Linked DNA regions of Homo sapiens: all the other regions are linked to region 6. The links are contacts of gene promoters, found by promoter capture Hi-C in blood cells and fetal thymus (Javierre and others, 2016). All regions are on one chromosome and are shown on one strand. Each heading gives the region's core, a stretch centred on a gene start or on the middle of the fragment in contact. The rest is flanking DNA. Distances are from core to core; before and after follow the strand shown.

What was found. Contacts are between HindIII fragments. The CHiCAGO score rates a contact against its expected background, and 5 or more counts as called.
Region 1: the fragment with the promoter of SCNN1D here is called in contact with the fragment with the promoter of PERM1 in region 6 in 13 of 17 cell types (activated CD4 T cells, naive CD4 T cells, M0 macrophages and 10 more); the score reaches 15.8 in activated CD4 T cells.
Region 2: a contact is called between a fragment that was not itself captured here and the fragment with the promoter of PERM1 in region 6, in 2 of 17 cell types (naive CD8 T cells and total B cells). The highest score is 6.4, in naive CD8 T cells.
Region 3: a contact is called between the fragment with the promoter of ATAD3C here and the fragment with the promoter of PERM1 in region 6, in 6 of 17 cell types (activated CD4 T cells, total B cells, naive B cells and 3 more). The highest score is 12.9, in activated CD4 T cells.
Region 4: the fragment with the promoter of ACAP3 here is called in contact with the fragment with the promoter of PERM1 in region 6 in 9 of 17 cell types (naive CD4 T cells, activated CD4 T cells, total CD4 T cells and 6 more); the score reaches 9.9 in naive CD4 T cells.
Region 5: a contact is called between the fragment with the promoter of CCNL2 here and the fragment with the promoter of PERM1 in region 6, in 1 of 17 cell types (activated CD4 T cells). The highest score is 6.8, in activated CD4 T cells.

Annotation. Positions count from the first base shown.
Region 1 is chr1:1,278,681-1,282,562 of GRCh38, reverse strand. It overlaps SCNN1D (sodium channel epithelial 1 subunit delta), which reads right to left and starts at 2,127. Exons shown (of 18, transcript NM_001130413.4): 1 at 1,897-2,127; 2 at 1,266-1,337; 3 at 953-1,152; 4 at 248-321. The coding sequence starts at 1,901. LINC01786 (long intergenic non-protein coding RNA 1786) reads right to left here. Exons shown (of 3, transcript NR_185846.1): 3 at 1,956-3,495. The HindIII fragment of the contact is 8,116 bases long and covers 1-3,882 here.
Region 2 is chr1:1,343,365-1,347,384 of GRCh38, reverse strand. The region is part of intron 1 of DVL1 (dishevelled segment polarity protein 1); the gene reads left to right. Among named protein-coding and RNA genes, the nearest start is that of DVL1, 4.0 kb to the left of the region's middle. RefSeq lists enhancers at 1-264, 466-1,344. The HindIII fragment of the contact is 5,737 bases long and covers 1-4,020 here.
Region 3 is chr1:1,447,753-1,451,499 of GRCh38, reverse strand. It overlaps ATAD3C (ATPase family AAA domain containing 3C), which reads right to left and starts at 1,811. Exons shown (of 12, transcript NM_001039211.3): 1 at 742-1,811. The coding sequence starts at 816. The HindIII fragment of the contact is 12,234 bases long and covers 1,473-3,747 here.
Region 4 is chr1:1,305,396-1,309,363 of GRCh38, reverse strand. It overlaps ACAP3 (ArfGAP with coiled-coil, ankyrin repeat and PH domains 3), which reads left to right and starts at 1,434. Exons shown (of 24, transcript NM_030649.3): 1 at 1,434-1,595. The coding sequence starts at 1,549. PUSL1 (pseudouridine synthase like 1) reads right to left here and starts at 767. Exons shown (of 8, transcript NM_153339.3): 1 at 644-767; 2 at 392-449; 3 at 91-278. The coding sequence starts at 720. RefSeq lists silencers at 126-255, 266-405, 436-505, 726-1,405, 1,446-1,615 and 2 more. The HindIII fragment of the contact is 38,674 bases long and covers 1-3,968 here.
Region 5 is chr1:1,397,762-1,401,898 of GRCh38, reverse strand. It overlaps CCNL2 (cyclin L2), which reads left to right and starts at 2,564. Exons shown (of 11, transcript NM_030937.6): 1 at 2,564-2,880; 2 at 3,228-3,302; 3 at 3,557-3,666. The coding sequence starts at 2,593. It overlaps MRPL20-AS1 (MRPL20 antisense RNA 1), which reads right to left and starts at 2,369. Exons shown (of 3, transcript NR_015434.1): 1 at 2,210-2,369; 2 at 1,596-1,741; 3 at 1-1,294. RefSeq lists an enhancer at 1,083-1,626 and silencers at 2,012-2,071, 2,362-2,601, 2,672-2,851. The HindIII fragment of the contact is 37,128 bases long and covers 1-4,137 here.
Region 6 is chr1:980,843-983,342 of GRCh38, reverse strand. It overlaps PERM1 (PPARGC1 and ESRR induced regulator, muscle 1), which reads left to right and starts at 1,250. Exons shown (of 4, transcript NM_001394713.1): 1 at 1,250-1,278; 2 at 2,170-2,500. The coding sequence starts at 2,314. The HindIII fragment of the contact is 23,754 bases long and covers 1-2,500 here.

The sequences.
Region 1 (3,882 bases), core at 878-3,377, 300 kb before region 6:
TGTGGAAGGCAGGTGTCCCTGTCCCCCAGGACCACCCCATCCCTGTCTACTGTGGGACCCTAGATATCCAGGTGGCCTCACTGTCCCAAATGACCAGACCCGAGCCGGGCCCAGGTTGGAAGGGTAGGCTCTGTGTTCCTGACATCCTGCCCCAAGTGGTGCTGGGTCCCTGGGCTTGGCTGGGGGAGCCCAGCCCCACAGGGTCCAGCAGCAGAGCCATGGCTCTGAGGAGGGTGAGGTCACCTGCCTGCCGGCTCTGGAAGGAAGCAGCTGCCACCGGTGACGTCCTGGAGAGGAAAGCCATGCTGGAGTCACCCAGGCCTGTGTGAATCACAGCTTCGTCACTGGCTGTGTGGCCTTCCCGAGTTACTCAACCTCTCTGAGCTGATTTCCTTGAGTGCCAGATGGGGCTGGGGTGCCTCTCCAAGCTCGCGGCAGGGGGCTTGCTGATGTCACAGAGACCCCACAGGTCAGCGGCAGGGCCCCCGGACACAGCACAGGCCTGGGGCTTCTCCCCCACCACATCTGGGCAGCTTTGTGCGTGGGCCGCACCTGCCGAGGAGACAGGGCACACATGGCCCGGGCGGCTACTTGGCAGGCGGGGACAAGGTCCTAGGTGCTTGCCAGAGATTGTGGCTGGAAGCAGCCTGTGCCTCCCTGTGTCCCCGGGAGTGGCCTGGCAGACAGCCCAGCCTTGGTGCAGGGTGCAGAGAGAGAAAGAGCCCAGGTCCGGCCAGTGGGGCCCGGTCCAGCCAAAGGGCAGCTTGCAGGAGCAAGGCCCCCGGCTTCCTGTAGGAGGGGGAGCCCTGGCCGGGGGCAGAGCACCCCTTCCATGACCCGTATGCCCTGCAGGGCCTCAGTCAGAGCACATCTCGGCTGGATCACGCAGCTCCCGGCTCCACCCCCCTCCCCTCCTCCCGGGCAAGGCCTCTAAGGGCTGAGGTTCAGTCACCTGTCCCACACCCCTGTATCGGGCCAGAGAGTAGGCAGAGGGGGTAGCCACAGAGCACATGTCCAGCACTGGTGAATCCACATGGTCCTCCCCCTCTTCTGGGCCATCCCCTCGCTGGCCCGGTGCAGGGGGTGGGGTGGGGCGAACCCAGCTCCCGGCATGTGGGGGTCCTGTGGTCACTGCACCATGACCAGGTGAGCCTGAATGAGAGAAGGGACGGGCAGGCATCCCTGGCTCCCTTTGGGCCCATGCCTCTGCTCTCTCCCAGGAAAGACGGCCAGGCCCCATTGACCGAGCATGGCTGTGAGCTCACCTCCTTGGGCCGCTGAGGTGGCCGGGCCACAGGTAACGAGGGAGCGGTGTTGTCTTCTGTGACAGCACTGCCCTGGAGATGGCAGGCGCCTGGCATCTGTGGGACCCCAGCCAGGACCTCCTATCCCAGAGCCCCGTTTCCTCCCCTGGGGTGAGCGTCCCCCACTCAGGGTCACTCTGAGTCAGCCCTGGGACGGTTCTGGTGCAATAGACAGGCAGCCCAAGGTCGGGATTCCCGTGGGCATGGGCAGGCCAGGGGTGGCCTGGGGTCCCTCTGGGGTCCTGCACCCAGGCAGGTGAACAGCCTCCCAGGCAGAGCCCCCTCGGCCCCGGGCATCAACTGCACTGTCCAGTGGAGCCTCCGCAGAACAGGCACTAAGGTGGCACCAAGGTGCCCCCGGCTGCTGGCCTGGGTGGGTGCTGAGGGTGGGAGTGTGGAGCTTGGGGTCTGGCCGGTGTCCCCTGCTGGGAGGAGTAAGGTGCGTGTGGGCTGCCTTCTAGGTTCCCTCATAAACCAAAAATAAAATTATAAGCCCTGAACTGTCTGGATGGACCCCTGGTCTTAGCCATGGGCATTCCAAAGTTAACCTGAAAAACTAGCTCAGCTGTGATGGGAAGGGAGTCGGACGCACCTCATGCCTCCTCCCTGCTGGAATTCAGGCACAGCATCAGCATCACCTCAGGCCTTGAGTCTGATGAGAAGCATTTATAGTTGATTCTCTCTGAGGCTTGTGACCTGGTGGCTTCATCTGCGATAAGACCTTCATCTGCACAACGCCATACTGTAACCAGACATTCCCTTCTACTGATAACAACTCTTTTTTTTTTTTATTTATTGAGATGGAGTCTCGCTGTCGCCCAGGCTGGAGGGCAGTGGCGCGATCTCGGCTCACTGCAGGCTCCGCCCCCCGGGTTCACGCCATTCTCCTGCCTCAGCCTCCTGAGTACCTGGGACTACAGGCGCCCGCCACCACGTCTGGCTAATTTTCTGTATTTTTAGTAGAGACGGGGTTTCACCGTGTTAGCCAGGATGGTCTCGATCTCCTGACCTCGTGATCCGCCCACCTCGGCCTCCCAAAGTGCTGGGATTACAGGCATAAGCCACTGCGCCCAGCCTAATTTTTGTATATTTTTTTAGTAGAGATGGGGTTTCACCATATTGGCCAGGCTGGTCTTGATCTCTTGACCTGGTGATCCGCCTGCCTCGGCCTCCCAAAGTGCTGAGATTACGGGTGTGAACCACTGCGCCCGGCCACCTTTTTCTTAAGACAAGGAGAACGACTCCCTTTTGGGTACCCCATTTGGTTTCTAGCTCGGACGTGCGTTCCTAAGGGTCTTCTCTGTTGCTTTTTCTCCCAAAATTAAGCCCAACTGGCTTGTGCGTGCATTTGCATGAGGAACTGAATTGTTCTTTGCATAGATAAATGAGAGACTGAGTTTTCTCAGCTCCAGAAAGAAAGGCATTTTGCTCCTCCCAGCTGAAAGGCGCCCCTGGGTGACTGTGAGCCAAGTGGGAGTATCTCGTGGGCTGATCCCCCACGACGTGCAGCAGCCCCACAGGGAACCCCCCAACACAATTAGTTTAAAAAGGTTTGTCTGCTGGGTGCAGTGGCTCACGCCTGTAATCCCAGCACTTTGGGAGGCCGAGGCGGGTGGATCACGAGGTCAGGTGATCGAGACCATCCTGGCTAACACGGTGAAACCTCGTCTCTGCTAAAAACACAAAAAATTAGCCGGGCATTGTGGCGGGAGCCTGTAGTCCCAGCTACTTGGGAGGCTGAGGCGGGAGAATGGCGTGAACCCGGGAGGCAGAGCTTGCAGTGAGCCGAGATCGTGCCACTGCACTCCAGCCTGGGCGACAGAGCGAGACTCCGTCTCAAAAAAAAAAAAAAAAAAAAGGTTTGTCCAGGAAATGCACATAGGAGCTGGTCACTCTGTGTTTTGAGTCCTCTCGGAGGTGTTGGACTTCTAGAGAGAGAAACAGAGACACGTAAGAGGGCGAAGATGCCTCAGTGGTGACACACTGGGGAGTCCCGCCCACGACCCGTCCACGACCGGCACACTCAACCTGCTCCACGGAACCCCATTCCACAGCTCGGTTCCTCTGCGCCCCACCTGCTCCACGGAACCCCAGTTCCTCCATACTCAACCTGCTCCACGGAACCCCAGGCCACAGCTCAGTTCCTCCGCGCCCCACCTGCTCCATGGAACCCCAGGCCACAGCTCGGTTCCTTTCAAGAAAAAAAAAAGTGGGAAATAAATAATGTAAGCCTCAGCAAAGACAAGAGGGCGACCTCCTTCCAGGCACCCCGCTGGTTTCAGGCGCCTCTACCTGCAAGTGTTGGTATAAAACTGAACATGTCGCGGGCATGCTGGGTTTCCTAGTGCCCCAGCTGGTTCCATATTATGGTCTTTTGGGGCACATTTTAAACTGATGGGCAAATTCCATCCAGGAAAAATTCAGAGCCCAAAGGTCAGCCTGCAACTACAGAACCATAGAGTTCCTGGCCAGGCGCAGTGGCTCACGCCTGTAATCCCAGCACTTTTGGAGGCCAAGGCGGGCGGATCACCTGAGGTCAGGAGTTCGAGACCAGCCTGACCGACAGAGTGAAACCCCA
Region 2 (4,020 bases), core at 548-3,047, 360 kb before region 6:
CTGCTGGGCACATTTGGAGGACGCGTGGGTGCCCGGGCCTGGGAACAGGGTGGGCAGGTCTGGGTGTCGAGGCAGGCTTGGGGATGCGGCCAGGAAAGAGACAGGGGAGCTTCAGTGTACAGCTTTGGAGGCTGCAGACTTACAGGGGGCTGGGAGTCAGTGGGGCTGCAGAGGTCAGGGCTGGGCTGGGCTGGGCTGTGGGGGTTGGAAAGAATGGACTGGGGTGATGCTGGAGGTCCAAGACGAGGGCCTTGCTCTGTAGCCTCCCAGGTCCTCTGGCTGGGATGGGGGCCTTGCTCTGTGTCCTCCCTGGTCCTCTGGCTGGTGGCCTCAGGAGCCTACGGAGGACCCTCATCAATTACTTCCTTCATCCCTTCCCCTGAGTTCTACCCGCAGACCTCTCAGCACTGTCTGTTCTGTGGAATAGAACCCCCGTGGGAGGGGCTGGTTGGTCAGTAATACTTTAGCTTAAGCGACTGCTGAACTAGACACTGACCCTGGATGCCAAGCGAATGTAGTTGGAGATGGGGGGAAGAGAAGGCAGGTCCTCGCTGGTCTGGGGTGGCCTTCATAAGAGAGGGAGCTTCAGGCTGGGGACGCTGAGGAGGCCCTGGTGAGTCGGGGGTTCCTGCGCCAGCCCCCGCTGCATTCTCAGCCCAGCCCTGGTTCCCCAGCCTCTGCTCCAGAGCATGACTGACCACCTTGCAGTGCAGGGAGCCTGTGTCATGGCCACAACCACGTGCCCTGGTCTGGACCCCACTCCCCACGCACGGCTTTGGCCCAGTGGGTGAAGGTCCCCCGCCTGTCCTCCACTTTTCATGCCCTGGTCACAGCTATTCTGACCCAAGATCCCCAGGGCTGGGAGGAGGGCAGAATTGGGGAGGGTCTCTGCCTGGTGCTGGGTTTGGTGGTTGGCAGGGGGTCTCGCCCAGCCTTGGGCCGAGGCAGAGGAGGGAGGGTGTTTGGCTCCGGGTCCCCACTGCTGGGTGCGTGGCGGATGCTGGGCCTGCTGGACTTGGCACCGAGGCTGTCTGTTGGGCACAGCTCCCACAGTTCATCTCCGAGGTGGGGGTGACCCAGGCCTGGGACTGGGGGATGGGTGGAGGCAAGGCTGTGGGCCCAAAGCCCTGGTCCCCAGGGCCGCCTGCCATGGGCCTCGGTGTTGTGACAGCTCCTTGTGTCCTGGGTGGTGCTGTGGGGAGCTATGGAGTTGGGGAGGCTCTGCCTGGCCTGGGCTGTGGGGGGAGTTCCCACTCCGCCCTCCCTGGCTGTGCCACTTGGGGTCTGTGACTCAGCCTCTCTGTGCCCTGAGTGCCTCCCTGGTTTTGGGAGGGTCCAGGCAGTTCACCTACTGCACTCATAGCCATGGCCTAGCAGGGACACTTGAGCCTGTGTGTCCTGAACCGGGGGAGGGGCACAGAGAGATCCCAGGACTCGGCACCACCCAGGGGACAGGCTGGTGGAGAGCCCCTGGCTCTGGGGTCAGGGGTTGGGAGGCCACAGACCCCCAAGGCTGAGGGCCCTGACCTGGGGCGTGCACAGGGGGCTCTGAGGGCACAGGATGGCTCTGCACCGCCTGTCCTGGGCCAGCTACCCCTGCCAGCTTCCTGCTCCGCCTTGGGAGAATGGGGTGCATTCGGGACCACGCCACGTCTAGGGCAGCTGGCTGTGGCCTCTGGGAGTCTGGAGGGTTCTCTGCATCCTGTGTGGCCATGCTGGCTCCCAGGGCGCTGCCTCTGAGTGGATTCCTCCCCGGGGCGGGTCTGTGGGGGCAGCACACAGGTTAGCCAGGCCTCACAGGGAATCCCAAGGTGGGGGCACAGTGCCGGCAGGGGCGCCCCTGGCAGCTGCCGTGAGTTTCAGCGGAGGCTGCTACAGAGGCGCGGGGACCCCGGGTTGTGGGTACGCCCCCAATGCCTGGCCAGCCTCCAGCACCCTCCCCCATCTGGCTGGGGTGGGGACGGCAGGGCTCTGCCTGGGACCTGGGTAGCTGATCCCTGGAGCCCCAGGCAGACCCCACCCTTCCCTCTGTGCTGTTTGGGTCCTGCTCCCTTTCTCCTGGCCCAGCCAGGCTTGGGTCTGCACCCTGCCACTGGGGGCAGGGGAGGACTTGTTACACCCTGTTGGGCTGAAGAGGGCGGAGTGAGTAGGGCCTCTGGGTCCTGGCTGGACATCTGTGAGGGGGCAGGGGGCAGGGACATCCCAGGCAGCCTGGGGTCTTCGTGAGGCCCTGGCTGGGTGGGCCATGCGGGCTTGGGCCACTCTGGATGGTGGGAGGGGGCAGGGCCCTCTTCCGGTGGAGCCAGGCGGGTGCTGTACTGGGGTGCTGGGTGGCCGAGTCTCCCTCCAGTGAGTCAGAGGGTGCTGGGTGGCCGAGTCTCCCTCCGGTGAGTCAGAGGGTGCTGGGTGACTGAGTGTCTCCCTCAGGTGAGTCAGAGGGTGCTGGGGTTGGGTGTGGCAGGGGAGAAGCTGCCGGCCAGGCCACCTGGGGCCGTGTGTCAGGGACTGAGGTGGGGACCCTGCCAGGGGCTCTGCTGTGGTCAGGTCCATTAGAGACAAGGGCTCACTGTGGGCCCTGGCCCCCTGGCGGCAGCTAGTGGTGGCCTCGGTGTCCGTGGGGCCCGCCTCACCCTGGGTTGCTCCAGCCTTTCAGGTGTGACAGCCTCTCACTGTGGCGGCCTCAGCCTGGCATGGGGTCATGGTCTTACCTGGGAAGGCTCCTGTGTGGGGGCAGCAGACGTGGAGGGGTCTGAGAAGTGACCTTCTCTGCTCTTTGGGGGCGTCTACCTCATGGCCTGGCCCTGGGTGGCCTGGGGAGGCAGCTGCAGGACCCCAGAGGGCTAGGTAGGGGTCCCTGCTCCCACCTGGGCTGGCCCTGCCTGCTGTCCACTCTGCCCTGAGGCTTGGGGCCTCTTCCCAGCAAGTGGGTGGGCCAGGGCTTGGGTGAGAGTGTGGGTTTGCCACTTTGCCGGGGGCCTCCTGCTACCTACTGCTTCGGAGTCTGGCTGAGTCAAGGTGCCCCGGGGTCAGGGGACCTGGAGCGGCCAGTCGGGGTGGCTCTGTAGCTCGCAGTGGGACTAGCAGCCACAAGGCCGCTTCCTGCCAGGTGTGCGGCCAGGCCAAGCCCCGTCTCCGGGCTCCTATTTCTCCACTGGGCCCAAGTCCCGGGCGTGGAAAATGCTGCTGGGCAGGGCAGGGTGCCACGAGGCGGCGTCCAGATCCTACCCAGCCTGCTGCCTGGGCCCTCAGAGGTCACAGTGTGAGTGTCGACCACAGCCCTGCCTGCCTTGCTCCTTGGCCTGGGGACCTGCCCCTGCCCAGCCATCCCCTCTGTGCCGTGTGGGTTGCCACCCTGCCCTCTGAACTCTGAGCTCGGGTCACCCGGCCTCCTCCTGGTTCGTGTCCCCTGACCCTCTGCGGCCTGCCTGGGTGCCCTCTGCCCCGTTCCCAAGCCTATCTGACCTGGGGGTGGACTGGTGAGGCACCTGGCCAGCTTGCTCTCCTGGGGGCCCTGCCGGCTCCGCATCCCCTGCTGCCCCTCTAGGTCCTGAGGTGCAGGGAGGTTTGGTGAGTGGAGGTCTTTGTCTCCCTGGCTAGGTGGACAGGACAGGAGGGTGGTGGGCGGCCTCTGGGGACCTGTGGGCCCTCCCAGCCCACCTACGTCCGTCCGTCGGGTCTGAGAGTCCTTGTAGGTGGACTGTGAGCCTGACTAGGGGTGCAGGGCAGGGGTCAGGCAAAGCCCTGCCCTCACAGAGCCTGACCCTGGGCAGGCAGGCACAGGGCCTGGGACCTGAGGCTGCTCCTGAGACGCCAGGAGGGTGGAGTAGGGCCATAGGGCATGGCTGGCATGATGGAGAGGAGGCTGCTGGGGGATTTGGGCTCCTGGTTGGGAATGACAGGTCTGAGTGCAGGGGTGGGTGCAGGTGGCCTGATGCCCTGGCTGTTGAGGGGTGGGCGGCTGGTCTGGAGCTGGCTGGGAGGTGGAGCGGTGGACCTGAGGTCTGGGGCAAGGGACAGGGA
Region 3 (3,747 bases), core at 562-3,061, 470 kb before region 6:
TGGTGGGTGCCTGTAATCCCAGCGACTTGGGAGGCTGAGGCAGGAGAATGGCTTGAACCCAGGAGGCAGAGGTTGCGGTGAGCTGAGATCGCACCATTGCACTCCAGCCTGGGCAACAGAGTGAGACTCCGTTTCAAAATAAATAAAATTAAAAAATCTTGCTGAGCTGGACGCGGTGGCTCACGCCTGTAATCCCAGCACTTTGGGAGGCTGAGGCAGGCGGAGATCAGGAAATCGACACCATCCTGGCTGACACGCTGAAACCCCATCTCTACTAAATATACAAAAAAAATTAGCTGGGCGTGGTGGCAGGTGCCTGTAGTCCCAGCTCCTCAGGAGGCTGAGGCAGGAGAATGGTGTGAACCCGGGAGGTGGAGCTTGCAGTGAGCCAAGGTCGCACCACTGCACTCCAGCCTGGGCGACAGAGCAAGACACCATCTCAAAAAAAAAAAAAATCCTGCTGAGTCAAAGAAATGAGGTGAGAATGTCAAGAAGATCCAGGCCCTCAGGACGACCAGACGCCCTCACCAACACCGGCCCTCCCTCTCGGGCGGCTCTGCGGCAGCGTCTCTCACCTCCCCTTGTTTCCTTCTGTGAAATGAGGCGCCCAAGCTTGGCCCTGGGCCCCACTGCTGCCCATGTACACACCCCCGGCCCTACCCACCGGCAGTAGCCCTACCAATCTCCACGCCCGAACCCCATGTGTGCCCCGGCCTCCCCGCCCACACCGGCCCCACTCACTTTGAGCTTGGACTGTTGCTCCAACTGCAGCGTCTGCTCCTGCATCTGCGCCAGATTCAGGGCGTCCTTTGACATGGCCTGCAGATGCAGGGACACGGAGGGCAGGTGTTAGGATACACGGATGCCGCTGGGCAGGCACGCACACCAGCCAAGGGGCTTTCTGGAATCCACGGCCACGCCTCGACCTCAAAGCCCCCAGCCCTGCCTCCCCATCCTCCTTCCTAGTCAGACCTGGCGTGACGATGCCCCATCCCCAGCACACGGCCTGATGCATTTGTGAGGTTTTATGCCCTCCAGGGATGGTCTTGGAGAGCCACATCAGGAAGGCCATCCCATGTGGACGGGAGGAGGCTCTTTCCCAATTCAACAGAAAGTCAGGCGATGGCTAAAGTGTCCATTTTTTCACGTTACACATGCTTTTTTTTTTTTTTTTTTTGAGACGGAGTCTCATTCTGGCCCAGGCTGGAGTGCAGTGGCATGATCTCTGCTTACTGCAAGCTCTACCTCTCGGGTTCACGTCACTCTCCTGCCTCAGCCTCCCGAGTAGCTGGGACTACAGGCGACCGCCACCACACCCGGCTAATTTTTGTAGTTTTAGTAGAGACGGTTTCACCGTGTTAGCCAGGATGGTCTCGATCTCCTGACCTCGTGATCCGCCCACCTCAGCCTCCCAAAGTGCTGGGATTACAGGTGTGAGCCACCGCGCCCGGCACATACCCTTTTCCTAAGCTTCCAATGGCTGTTGTCAGTGATCTGCTATCAAGAACGTGCGGGCAAGAAAATGAAAGAATAAGAATTAGATAGCAGCCAACAAGCTCAGGGTGACGAGGACAAGCATCTGACAACGTCCTCAGTTACATTTTGTTCCTAGTGGGGAACCGACACAGGTCAATGTTTGGGTGACCTGGGACAGAAGTACGTATTCTCTGAGCTGCTGAGGACTCAGCATCAGGTCTCAACATTTTCCGGGATGAGTTTTCCCATCACAAAATTTTACCATAAAAATCTTCTGGCCGGGCGCGGTGGCCCATTGAGAAAATATGCAGGACCTTGGGGAGTTAATCATGAAGGGGATTAAAGAATCCATGCCCGGAACCCAGAATCTTACCCGAATATTTAACATACAGCAAGGAAAAGATAAAGGGCCTGCGACATAATTTTTAGACAGATTAAAAGAACAAATGAGAAAATATGCTGGTCGAGGTGTCGAGGATCCTCTTGGGCAAGGAATTTGTCACTAACAGTTGGCCAGATATTAACCACAAATTACAAAAGAAAGAACTAGAAAAATAAGCCTGTAGAAGAGATTCTAAGAGAAAGGGAAAAAAATCTTAGAGGAAAGAGAAAGACTGACAGAAGGAACAGAGAAAGTCAGAGAGAGAGAGAGAGTCAGAGAGAGAGAGAGACAGAGTCAGAGAGACAGAGTCAAAGAGAGAGAAAGACTGACAGAGGGAACAGAGGAAGTCAGAGAGAGAGAGAGAGTCAAAGAGAGAGAGAGACAGGCAGAGACAGAGTCAGAGAGAGAGACAGAGTTAGAGAGTGAGACAGAGACAGACAGAGAGAGACAGAGTCAAAGAGACAGAGAGAGCCAGAGAGAGAGAGAGACAGAGTTAGAGAGAGAGAGAAAAGGAGAGATAGAAGTAGTCAAGAAAAAGCAATGTGCCCCATTCTTTTAAAAGCCAGAGTACGCCCGGCGTGGCAGCTCACCACGCCTGTAATCCCAGCACTTTGGGAGGCCGAGGCGGGCAGTTCAGGAGGTCAGGAGATCATCCTGGTTAACATGGTGAAACCCTGTCTCTACTAAAAATACAAAAAATTAGCCGGGTGCGGTGGTGGATGCCTGCAATCCCAGCTATGCAGGAGGCTGAGGCAGGAGAATTGCTTGAACCCAGGAAAGACAGAGGTTGCAGTGAGCCGACACAGTGCCACTGCACTCCAGCCTCGACGACGAATGAGACTCTGTCTCAAAAAAAAAAAAAAAAACAACTTACCGAAAGGCATGGAGGCCACTGACAACTATCCTTAATGTGGTAACCCACAGACGGCCGTAGTGCATTACAGGACGACACTTATTTAAAGATAGTTCCTCCCAGGTGATTCGAGGAAAAAGACACAATGGGTAATCAGTAACTAACAGGAAAAACTCTTGTGGAAATAGAGTTAAGAGGCCGGGCTCTGTGGCTCACACCTGTAATCCCTGCACTCTGGGAGGCTGAGGCGAGTGGATCACCTGAGGTCAGGATCACCTGAGGTCAGGAGTTCGACAGCAGCCTGGCCAACATGGTGAAACCCCATCTCTACTAAAAATACAAAAATTAGCTGGCCGTAGTGGCAAGCACCTGTAATCCCAACTACTCAGCATGCTGAGGCAGGAGAATCGCTTAAACTCAGGAGGTGGAGGCTGCAATGAGCCGAGATCACGCCATTGTACTCCAGCCTGGGTGACAGAGTAAGACCTCCGTGTCAAAAAATAAAAAATAAAAAAATAGAGTTAAGAAAGTTTCCTAATAACTGGTCTGCTCAAGCATGAGAGCTGTTTGCACTCAGCCAAGCCTCAAAGTACTTACAGAACCAGGAAGGAACCATCTATACCAATTCTAAGTATGCCTTTTAACTGGGCTTTTTTTTTTTTTTTTTTTTGAGACAGAGTCTCACTCTGTCGCCCAGGCTGGAGTGCAGTGGCGCTATCTCGGCTCACTGCAAGCTCCGCCTCCCGGGTTCACGCCATTCTCCTGTCTCAGCCTCCCGAATAGCTGGGACTACAGGTGCCTGCCACCACACCTGGCTAATTTTTTGTATTTTTAGTAGAGACAGGGTTTCACCATGTTAGCCAGGATGGTCTCGATCTCCTGACCTCGTGATCCACTCGCCTCGGCCTCCCAAAGTGCTGGGATTACAGGCATGAGCCACTGCGCCCGGCCTGAAGTGGCTTATACATTAAAAAATATATATATTAGACTGAATGAAGTCTTATTAATAGCAAAGGATAATTAAAATCCCAAACTC
Region 4 (3,968 bases), core at 185-2,684, 330 kb before region 6:
CAAGGAAGTCTGTCCAGATCTCCAGCCTCCGCCCGCGACAGATGGAGTCGGGAAGGCACAGCCCCAGGGCTGCTTAGGTCGCGGGCTCACCTGATGGCCGGGTGCCGCAGGTGTGTGTTGAGGGCCTCGGCCAGGACCTCGGGCGGGAAGGGCGGCCGGCCTGAGCGGCGCTGGACGTCCAGGTGCGCCGCGTTGCTCAGGGCGTGGACCCCGGCGTCCGTGCGGCTGGAGATGGTGAACCTGACCGGCTCCACGGAATTCAGCCGCTCGGCGGCCTCCTGCAGGACCGAGCCGCGGGGCGGGCGGGTGAGCGAGGCCGGACCCCGGGGACGCGCGGGCGGGAGCCTCCCCCTTACCCCTCACCGGGCGTCCCGTGACCGGCTGAGCGCACCTCCAGGTAGTTCTGGACCCCGACGGCGCGCTGAGTGCCCCTGACGGCCGCGACCCCGCTGCGGGCAGAAGCGGGCGGAGGTTACCGGGGGCGCCCTGCCCTGGGGTCTCCGCCGCCGTCTGAGGCCAGGGCCGCTTCCTTCCCCGAACGTTTGGAACCCGCGTCCAGAGACATCCGCCTGCCCGCCCGCGCCCTCCTTCCCGCCTCCGCCCGGGCCCACGTGGCGCCCGCCGCTGCGCCTGGGAAACCTACTTAAAGTCGGTGCCCACGTACTGGAAGTACACAAGATAGCGCGCGCGCACGGAGCCTGAGGCCGGCGCCGAACTCATGGCGGAGCCCAGCCGGTGGCGTCAGAGGCGGCCTCCAGCGCAGGAATCCTGCGCGCGCGCGGACGCGGCCTGGTCACGCCCCCCCCCCCTCCCCCCCGGCCCCGGCCGCTCTTGCGCCTGCGCGGTGGCACCGCGCCACGGCGGCCAGAGTCGGGGAGCGGAGGCGGGGCCGGGCTTAGGGAGCGGCTGCAAAGTGCCGGCCCGCCGCCGAGCGCAGGCGCTCTACCTCTATCGCGGCGCCCCGGGAGGCGCGCACCAACCACGCGGTCACCCCGCGCTCTCGCGGGCGTGCATTCGTTCACTCGCTCATTCATTCGCCGCCGCCCACACTCCCCGAGCGCGCCCGTTCGCCGCGTTGCGGCCAAGTCCTCCCAGACGTGGTTTTTGCAAACGCCCTGAGTTGCGCAACGGCCGGGATGGTTGGAGCGGGCGGGCCCGCGCCCTCCCCGCGCCCTCCCCGCGCCCCACATTTCCACCGACTGTCCCCGGAGACGGCCGTGGCAGGCCCCGCCTCACTTCCGGACCGGGGTGGTCCCTGGACGCTGCGAGAGGCGTTTGGCGACGCTCCCCGGCGGTGACAGCGGGCGGCGCGCGCGGGCGGCGGACCTTGGCGACGCTCCCCGGCAGTGACAGCGGGCGGTGCGCGCGGGCGGCTGACTTTGGCGACGCTCCCCGGCGGTGACAGGCGGGGCGGGGCGCGGCGCGGCGGCCTCATTCCGGGGCGGGCGGGCGCCGAGGCGGCGCGGGCGGGACGAGCGGTCCGGGCCGGCGCGGCTGCCGCTCGGCGCCGCGGTCCTCGTGCCAGTGAGCGCCGCGGCCGCCGCAGCCATGACCGTGGAGTTCGAGGAGTGCGTCAAGGACTCCCCGCGCTTCAGGTGCGCCGCCCGGGGCCGCCGGGGTGGGCGCAGGCCGGGGGCGTCGCTGTCGCCTTTGTGCCCGGCGGCGGGGTGGGGAGGTCAGCGCCGGGCCGGGCCGCGGCCGCCGGGGAGGGGCTGGAGGACCGGCCTCGGACAAAGCGGCGGCCCCGCCCCGCCATGCCCCGGGGGTTGGAACAAAAGACGCTCCTGCCCTGTGCGGCCGCCCCGGGTGGAGGGCGTGCGCGTGGGCAGCCGTGGGCACCTCGGGACCGTCCGCCCCCGCTCTGTGTCTGCACCTCCACTGGGCTGAGCCCCTCCCGGGCCCTGCAGTCCAGCTCTGGCCAGGGTCGTCTGGGTCCGTGGGGGCGTCGGCCCCTGGTCTCTGACTTGATCCTGTGTCCAGAGCAGCGCGTGGGGAACAGGCAGCTGGAGCCGCGTTTAAGGCCTGGGGTAGGGTGCTTGGAAACGTGAAGTGGTTTGAATGACCCAGGGGCTTGGAGGGGTGGCGGCCGAGAAGAGCGGCGGGGAAGGTCAGGTAGGGGGTAGGGGTTGTGTGCACACCGAGTCTGCATGTTTTCCATCATTCGTGGCGTGCAGGCGTGTACACCTGCGTGAACTACATGTTCACAGACGTGTGCACAAGTGTGCATCGGCTTTGCTTGGTGGACATTTGGCAAACGACAATGGAGGCAAAGAAACCTCTCTGCATCCCCAAGTGCGCACCTGCGTGAGGCCCCCTCCTCTGCACGAGCTCGTGCGGGGTGCGCTCTTGTGAACTTTGCCCCTCTGCGTGCCTCCCTCCGGACACCAGGCCTTGCACAGGACGTGTGGATGAGCTGTGCCACGGGGCTGTGCTTGCTTCTGCATGTAGCCTGCCGATGAGTGCACGCAAGCGTGTGCACACACCACCTGTCTGTGTGGGTTCACGTACTGTGTTAGCCATGTCAGCAATAGACACATCACCTTGTACACGCGTGTTCCATCACTAGGTACACATGTTGATGCGTGTCTGTGCAGTGTCTCCTTGAACACACATGTATGTGTGGTACCAGTGTGTGCAGGCATGTTTGTGCATGAACATGTTTGCACATGTGTGCTTGATTGTGTATGTGTGGGTGTGCACGCGCGCGCTGGGTCTCTTGGGATCTGCTGGCAAGTCAGCATGTGTGTGGAGGCACGGGGAGCCTCTGTATCCCTGGAGCCCTCACCAGGAGGCTCAGGAGCCTTGGAGTGGGAGGCTCAGGGCCAGCCAGGAGAGTGGCCGCCAGCCCTGGGCAGAGGAACTGGGGCCATCCTCTGCTCTCCCATCTTCTGTTGCTGACCTGGGAAAAGGGGTTGAATAACTTGAGCACCCTAGGATCCTGCATTGAGGACCCGGGCTGTGGGGAGGTGTGGGCATGGCCTCCCTGCTGGGGGCTGGACCCTGGCTGAAGCACCCACCTTCTCCCTGGCCCCTCCGTCAGAAGCCTAATGGACCTCCTCCTCCACGCAGACGGCCCTGTACTGCCCTCTTCCAGTCGTGTGGGGGTGCTGGAACCCACTCACCTCTGGGCCTTCTCTCTGGTAACCGGCTCTCATGGGAGCCTGTTACAGGAGCCAGTTATGGGGGCTGTGGGGCTGCAGTAGGTGCCGTAGAGTGACTGCCCTGGGAAAGTGCCTCACCCCTGTGGGGCATGGACTGGAGTGGGGAGATGAGAATGGCCTGGCCCAGTGGGTTTTGGGGTTAGGCTGTGATTTAACTGGGGTTCGAGGGGCTCCCTGAGGCTGTCCTGGGGGCAGGCCCTAAGGGCGTAACTTGAGTTTCCTGGCCTACCGCCAGGTTGGGGGGCCAGGCAGGGTGGGCGGGAAGATGTGGTCTGTAACGTGGAGCCTGGTCGCCCCAGCCCGGGAGAGGGGGACCCTGCCCGCACCCTCCTGGTCTGGGGAGGGCCTAGTGGCAGCCCAGGTGCAGTGGGCCGGAGGCCAGGGGAGCCCGTGTAGGGGAACCGCCTGGCCTCTGTTCAGTGTGCCCCTCCCCTGGGTGGGGCTTCAGGCGCTGAGTCATGGCTTTGGTTGGGGGGCAGCCTCACCCTCCTCCCCGTCCTCCAAGCTGCTGAGGAAATCCTGGGCTGAGCACAGCAGAGGAGGCCTAGGTCCCCAGGACTGAGGAAGGGAGAGCTGAGGGGCTCCCAGCAGTGGGAGCGGCTCTCGGGGCCTCTGCCAGGGCCCACCCTGTCCCCATGAGCACGTCCGTGAGCTCCTGGGTGCAGCCATCCCCCCTTGCTGGCTCTCCAGGGACACGGGCGCCCCAAACCCGAGGGCGGCAGCTCTGGGTGCAGCTGTCTCTGCATCCGGCCCTGCTCAGGGGTGGCTGCAACTCCTGGGGTGTGGCGCTCTCTGCTGCCTTCTCCT
Region 5 (4,137 bases), core at 1,315-3,814, 420 kb before region 6:
TCATTTTCTGGTATCGAGCGACCACACCGAGGAGCACACCCTGCTTCCAAGGCTGCTGCCTTCTGCACACAGTGGGGGATCCCCACCCACCCTGGCTCCCCTCAAGGGCTGCGTGCACAGTGCCCGCTTTCCAGTTACCTGACCCACCCTGAGTCCCTATTCCATTTTGCTCGGGGCTGACCTCAGACATGCCCTGTGGCTCAGCTCTGCCACTACTCAGAACACCAGCCTCAGCTTCCCTATGTCCCCCAGATTCAGCAGCCCAGCAGGGATTGGGGGAAATGCTCCCACATCAGGTGGGTGGTGGCCTGGTCCCTGCAGACTGGACTGGCTTTTCAGCCATCTCCAGGAAGCAACACCTAGCAGACAACTGTCCCTTAACCCCAAGGGTGATGCACACTTCTCCCCTGGTCTTTCTGCCCCCCGATGCCCCTACATTTACACAGCAGTGCGCAGACCCTTGCCGCAACCTGCTTGTCTTGCTGACCCTGCTGTAGGAGCGCCTAAACTGAGTGCCCGTCTCCCCTCCAAAGGCAGCTGGCTTGAATCCTGTGGGAACGTGCCCTTCACCCTTTGCCAGCAGTTGCTGGGGAGTCTTTCCGGCCCCTTTCTCAGACTCACCACCTACCTCCAACCTGCGCAGAACAATCAGCGTCCTGACCACTTGCTAGAGATGGCTTCAGGCCGACCACTCCATCCTCACTGCAGGCCTTCATTCCTTCTGGCTTCCATCACTGCATGGCCCCCTAAGAGGTCCCCCTCCTGGCCCTTGTCACTGTGCCTCATGACAGCCACTACGCCCTAAGCCTTTGGAGGCCAGGGACAAAGTCTCGTTCACTGTCCTTTCCGCTGCATGAGTGCAGTGTCTGGCCAGGTGCACGGGGCACTCAGTGCCTGTCAGCCCTTGGTAAACAGTCCTGGACAACAGGGTCAAGGACAGAGCCCTGGGCGGCCACATTCGGTGCGTGCTCCTGTGTTGTGGCAAAGCTGCCTTTTCTGCGTTTCATGTCAGTGAAGGAAGACAGGGATGTGGCAGAGCCCTGCGGGTTGCTCCCATCACTCACTCGGTTTGTGCCATAGTCCTCCTGTTCCCAGGCGGTCCCAGGGCCTGCCCCTGATGGGCTGGAGGCACCACCAACCTCCCACTCCTCTGGCAGTCACAGCTCAGGGAATGGGCAAGCAGCACCAATGAGAAACCAGCTGTGTGGTGGGGTTTCCAGAGAAGAGGAAATTCCTTCTTTCCTGGAGAGCGTGCAGCTGTAACTCACAGACGAGACATCCCTGAGCTACCAGCCTGGGGAAAGAGGACATGAGTAAAGCTGTAACCATACCGTGTTACCCATAACAGGCGGTGAGGAGAGTGGGTTTTGGTTGGCACTGTTTGAGCTGCAGTATCAAGTCATGGCAGAGCTAGTGGACAGCTGACCTGGGGGTGGGGGTGAGGAGCAATGGTGGCTTCTGAATTTGAGCCCGTCTGAGCTGGGCAGTTACTGGCAGCTCAGTGTGTGAACCTGCAACCACTCAGGCCTCTGCTGCCCTTCCCTCTTCCTGCCTCACCGTTCCCTGCCCCACGCAGGCTTCCCCACCATCCTCACCCGTGGTCCTGTACTAGTCCTGGCAAAGGTTCCGGTAACTGCAGCAACAGATACCTCCTGCCCCTCCTGCACAGCTGTGGTCGATCGCAGGACAGCCGCAGGTGATGAAAAACCGTGAACCCAGGACGGGCAGGGCGTGAGACCGCCTGCGGGAGGATCAGCGATGTCAAGACGTTACAAACGCACGAACCCCCTCGCCGTCTCCCTGGCGTTTGTGAGGTCCTGTCCAAGCTCCTTCACACGTAGATCACCGGGCCTCGCTCCCCCGACTCCTTCCGTGGGCCTGAACCTTGAGGTACTTAGGCCTCCCCACGCTGGAGGGGCTCTGTAGGGACGTCGAGGCCACGTTTCCAGTCATCCCTCCACCCGTCTCTCCCCAGGGGCTGAGTGTTGAAGGCAAGACTTTGCAGGAGTCTGGCGTTAATACGCATCCCCAAAGTCTGGAGTCGATAAGGACTGAAGACACGACGCCGACGGCGGCCGGGGGACACCGGGCATGCGCGTCTCATCCAGGGGGAGGCCGAGCGGAGCCTCTGACCCTGCCCCGCGCCCAGGGTTCAGCAGTGGGGGTCGTCCCGCCCCAGATCCCACCGAGATGGCCCCCCTTGACCCACAGGCCTTTCGAGACGCGAGCTTCCGCGATCCGGGGTCTCTGTGCGAACGTGGGCATCTTGGAAGAGTCCCAGCCCCGCTCGGGGCGCACAGGCAGGCGCTCTCAGCACGGCACCCGCGCCTCCGCTAGGGACAGACATGCTTCCGGGTCGGCCGGCACCGCGGAGTCCCCTGGGTAACGAGCCCGCCCCACCCGCGCCAGGTTCCGGCGTCGGCGTTAGGCGCGTTGCTGACGGGCAGGTTATGTAGCCAATTGCGGCTAGGCGGCGTCGCGCTGGTCGCGGGCCGAACCAATGGCACGCGACGGGGCGGGGCGGTGGCGGCCGTGGAGCTTCGCGAGGAGCCGCCCTGAGGGAAGAAGCCGAAGGGGAGTCGGCGGCACAAAATGGCGGCGGCGGCGGCGGCGGCTGGTGCTGCAGGGTCGGCAGCTCCCGCGGCAGCGGCCGGCGCCCCGGGATCTGGGGGCGCACCCTCAGGGTCGCAGGGGGTGCTGATCGGGGACAGGCTGTACTCCGGGGTGCTCATCACCTTGGAGAACTGCCTCCTGCCTGACGACAAGCTCCGTTTCACGCCGTCCATGTCGAGCGGCCTCGACACCGACACAGAGACCGACCTCCGCGTGGTGGGCTGCGAGCTCATCCAGGCGGCCGGTATCCTGCTCCGCCTGCCGCAGGTGAGGGCGCGGCCGCGAGCCTCCGGCCCAGGTAACCGCTGGGGCGGCAGCCGCCTTTGTTGGCGGCGAGTCGGGCCCGCACCGCCCCCGCCTAGACCCCGACCCCAGCCCCTGCCCCGACCCCAGCCTCGGCGCCATTCCCTAGCCAGCCCATGCCCCTGACCCGGGGCCTCCCCGCCCGCCAGTGCGCTGGATCCCGAGACGGCGGGACGCGAAGAGCCTTTGTGGACGTGGGAAGCGTTTCAGTGTTTGGTTCTGCGTGGGGAGTCCCACGTTACTCGATGACTTTCGGCCGCGAAGGCTTTGAATGGTGCGTTTGAAAATACGGAAACTTTCTTCTACTCTAGGTGGCCATGGCTACCGGGCAGGTGTTGTTCCAGCGGTTCTTTTATACCAAGTCCTTCGTGAAGCACTCCATGGAGGTAAGGCTTCCTCCTGCACTTCATTCCCAGCGAAGTATGTTGAGGGTAAAACGGTTTGTTACTTTGCCCGGTTACTAAGGGAGTGAGTACTTGCCCCCCAGTCTGAGCTCTGTGCCGGAGGGTTCTGTTTCTTGACTTTTTTTTTCCCCTGGGTGCACCTCCCTTTTGGTCTGAATAGCCCTCAAGCCTTTGGCGGCCGTCAGGACGCCGTGGCTGGGGACAAACATGGGCGTGTTGCAATGCTTCCGCTTCAGCATGTGTCAATGGCCTGTGTCCACCTGGCTTCCAAGATAGAAGAGGCCCCAAGACGCATACGGGACGTCATCAATGTGTTTCACCGCCTTCGACAGCTGAGAGACAAAAAGTGAGTCAGTCAGAGCTGTCTAGTCTATCATAGATGCCTATTTTCTTTATTTCTGATTAAGTTACAGTAAGGCTTGTATAACACAATACAGGCCTGAGGCTCTAAACCTGTGGGATATTCATGAGCGCAGTCTCAAGCTCCACCAACAGAGCCTGCTCAGAGGCATCAGTAGATGCGGTTTAGTAAGGGCAGGGGCTCCAGTGAGGACAGTGCGCTGTGGCGGGTCGCGCTGGGGCTGGCTTCCTGCTTTACCCATGTCAGTGCACGGCCCTGCTGCTGCTTCTGTCCCACAAGTTTCTGAGTGCTCTGGAGCAGGGAATCTTAATCTCAGCACTATTGACATTCAGGCTGGATAATCTTTTTTTTCCTCCTGAGACAGGTTTCCTGTTGTCCAGGGCAGAGTGCGGTGGTATGATCATGGCTCACTACAGCCTCAACCTCCTAGGCTCAAGAGTTTCTCCTGCCTCAGCC
Region 6 (2,500 bases), core at 1-2,500:
GGAGGCACAGGGAGGCGGCCGCAGCCGAGAGACGCCACACAGAAGCAGATGCGCAGCTCCTGGGAAACTCCAGCCTGGAGCACGGCCACGCAGCCACCTGGGGAACGGGGCGGCACCTTCTGACGCTGACCCCAAGCGTCCTGGAAATGTGAGAGGTTCGCCGAAAGGAATGTTCCCAGATATTCACAGCCGCACCGTGTGTGGTAGCTGCAAACTGGAAACGACCCACATCGCCACCCACGGGAAACGGCACAGCCGCGTGGCACGTTCACACAGGACAGCCTCACCCGCCCGGGCAGTCGCCCGCGGCCCTCATGGCAGCTGTCTCCAGAGCACGGCGTGGGCCCGAGGACACAGATGCAGAAAGGGATGCAGGGTGCGATTCCACTTGTGAAAGCTCAAGTCAGGCCGGCCCTGCGTGGCGGGACGCCTTGTCCTGTGGTCTCGTGGCAGCTACTTTCTGGAAAAGCATCGTATGGCACCAGGCATGCACTTTCTGCACGCCCAGCTCTCACTGCCACCCCTCACGGCGCACACCCCAGTCTCCTAGTATCGTGCCCTGAACTCTCAGGAGCTTCTCGGTCCAAGCCTCCTCCTTAGAGAGGTCTCCGGCCCCTCCAGCCACGCCTCTCCCTACTTCTTTCTCAGGACGTGCTGCCATCGGAGCTGAGCTCACCTGCCTGTTTGATCGGATGTTTATTGTTGGATCCCTCGCCCTGTCCTCTTGTCCCCTCTGGCTCGGAACCTGCCTGGGAATGGGCACCGTGAACCCCAAGGTCAGGACGGCCTGGAGGGTGCAGCTGAGCGGAGCCAGGCGTGGGGGCTCTGACGCTGACGCTCCCTGGCGTCACTCACCCTCACATGAGCCCCAGAGGTCAGGACCGGGAGGCACAAGCCCTGGCCGGGACACAGAGGCCATCTCAGAAGCAGGCCAGGAACATTCCAGGGGCGGCAGGGAGGGCAGGTCTGAGGTTTCACCGCGGGTGGCGGAGGCACGGGAACTGAGCGGTGCTGCCTGCTGGTCAGCGTCCTCCGGCCCGTGTCTGACCCCACCTCAGCCCGGCCCCGTGCCAGGAAGTCGTCCTCATGTACTGTAGCTGGAGGGCCCTCAAATGCCATCTATTTGTGGCCTGGACCCTGATGGCTGGCACGAGTCTCATGTGGCCACAGGGACGTGGTATTTTTGGCACAGGGGGAGGAGCCTGTGCAGCCACAGCCTAGCACCATGCCGACCCAGGACGGGCAGCTCAGACGCCCAGCTCGGCCGCCGGGACCCAGGTAGGACATGGTCAGCTGCTGGCTCCTGACCCAAGGGGCCCCAATGGTAACAACCCCCACAGAGGCTTCTCAAGAGACCAGAGAGGAGGGCGAAGGTCAGTGGGTGGGAAGCCACCATGCCCTGGCCTCCGTCTCAGGACCGTCCCCACCAAAGTGACTTCCCACCCCTGGGTCCAGAGGGGCTGACCTGAGGCCGAGGGCGGCCCCCTCTAGGGGTAGACCCGACAGCTGGCTAGGGTCTCCTTGCTTCTCTGAGACGGGGCAAAGGAAGGCACCCCGGGCAGCCGGGCAGGCCTGGATCGTGGTGCAGACCTCGAGGACGGCCCGAGGTGGCTGCTGGGTCAAGAGACCCACCGCAGCCTGCACCTCCTGCCCAGGCTCTCCGTGCTGACTTGGGCCAGCTCTGGCCAGCACCACCTGGTGAGCTCAGAGAATAGCCTGGCCCAGCCAAGGCGATCGGAAGGTCATCGCCGAGGGCTGGGCACCTGCTGGGCCCTGTAAACCTTTCCTGTGGCCGGCTGCCAGCTGGGGCGCACTGGGATGGACCAGGGCTGCCCACCCCCGAGGGCACTGGTCCCATCGGGTGGACCCTGAAAGGTGCTTTGCCGTGCAAAGACAGCTCTGGCAGAAGGTGGAGGAGGTGAGGCTGCCCCAGCTGAGGTGTGATGGGAAAGAGCATTCAAACCTGAGGACGGCTGGTTTTATAGCTTCACTGGTAGAAAATCATCCTTGATTCTAGGAATGTAACACCGCATCATCACACAGCTATCATTTGGGGTGCGTTGGGAACTAGGGTCATGGGAGCTGGGGATCTTCTAACTTGGAAATCGTCACCACTAGGTTTGAAGGAAGCGCGGCCCTCCCCTCGAGATGCTGTTCTCTTCCTTTCAGGGCATGGATGGAGCCCCGAGGCGGTGGGAGCTCCCAGGTCTCGTGGGGCAGGGGCGGCATGTGCAGGGTGGTGCCCGGGGCCTGAACCCATGAAGACCCCACCGGACCCATTCTGCTACCCTCCAGTGCCTCTGCTGACTCCACATGGAAAATTTCCAGTACAGCGTCCAGCTGAGTGACCAGGACTGGGCCGAGTTCTCAGCCACCGCCGATGAGTGTGGCCTCCTGCAGGCCGGCCTGGCCTCTGGGGACGAGCTCTTGTCCAGTGACATTGACCAAGGGGACAGCAGTGGCAGCAGTCCCCCCAGGGCCCCACCTCTCCCAACTGGGC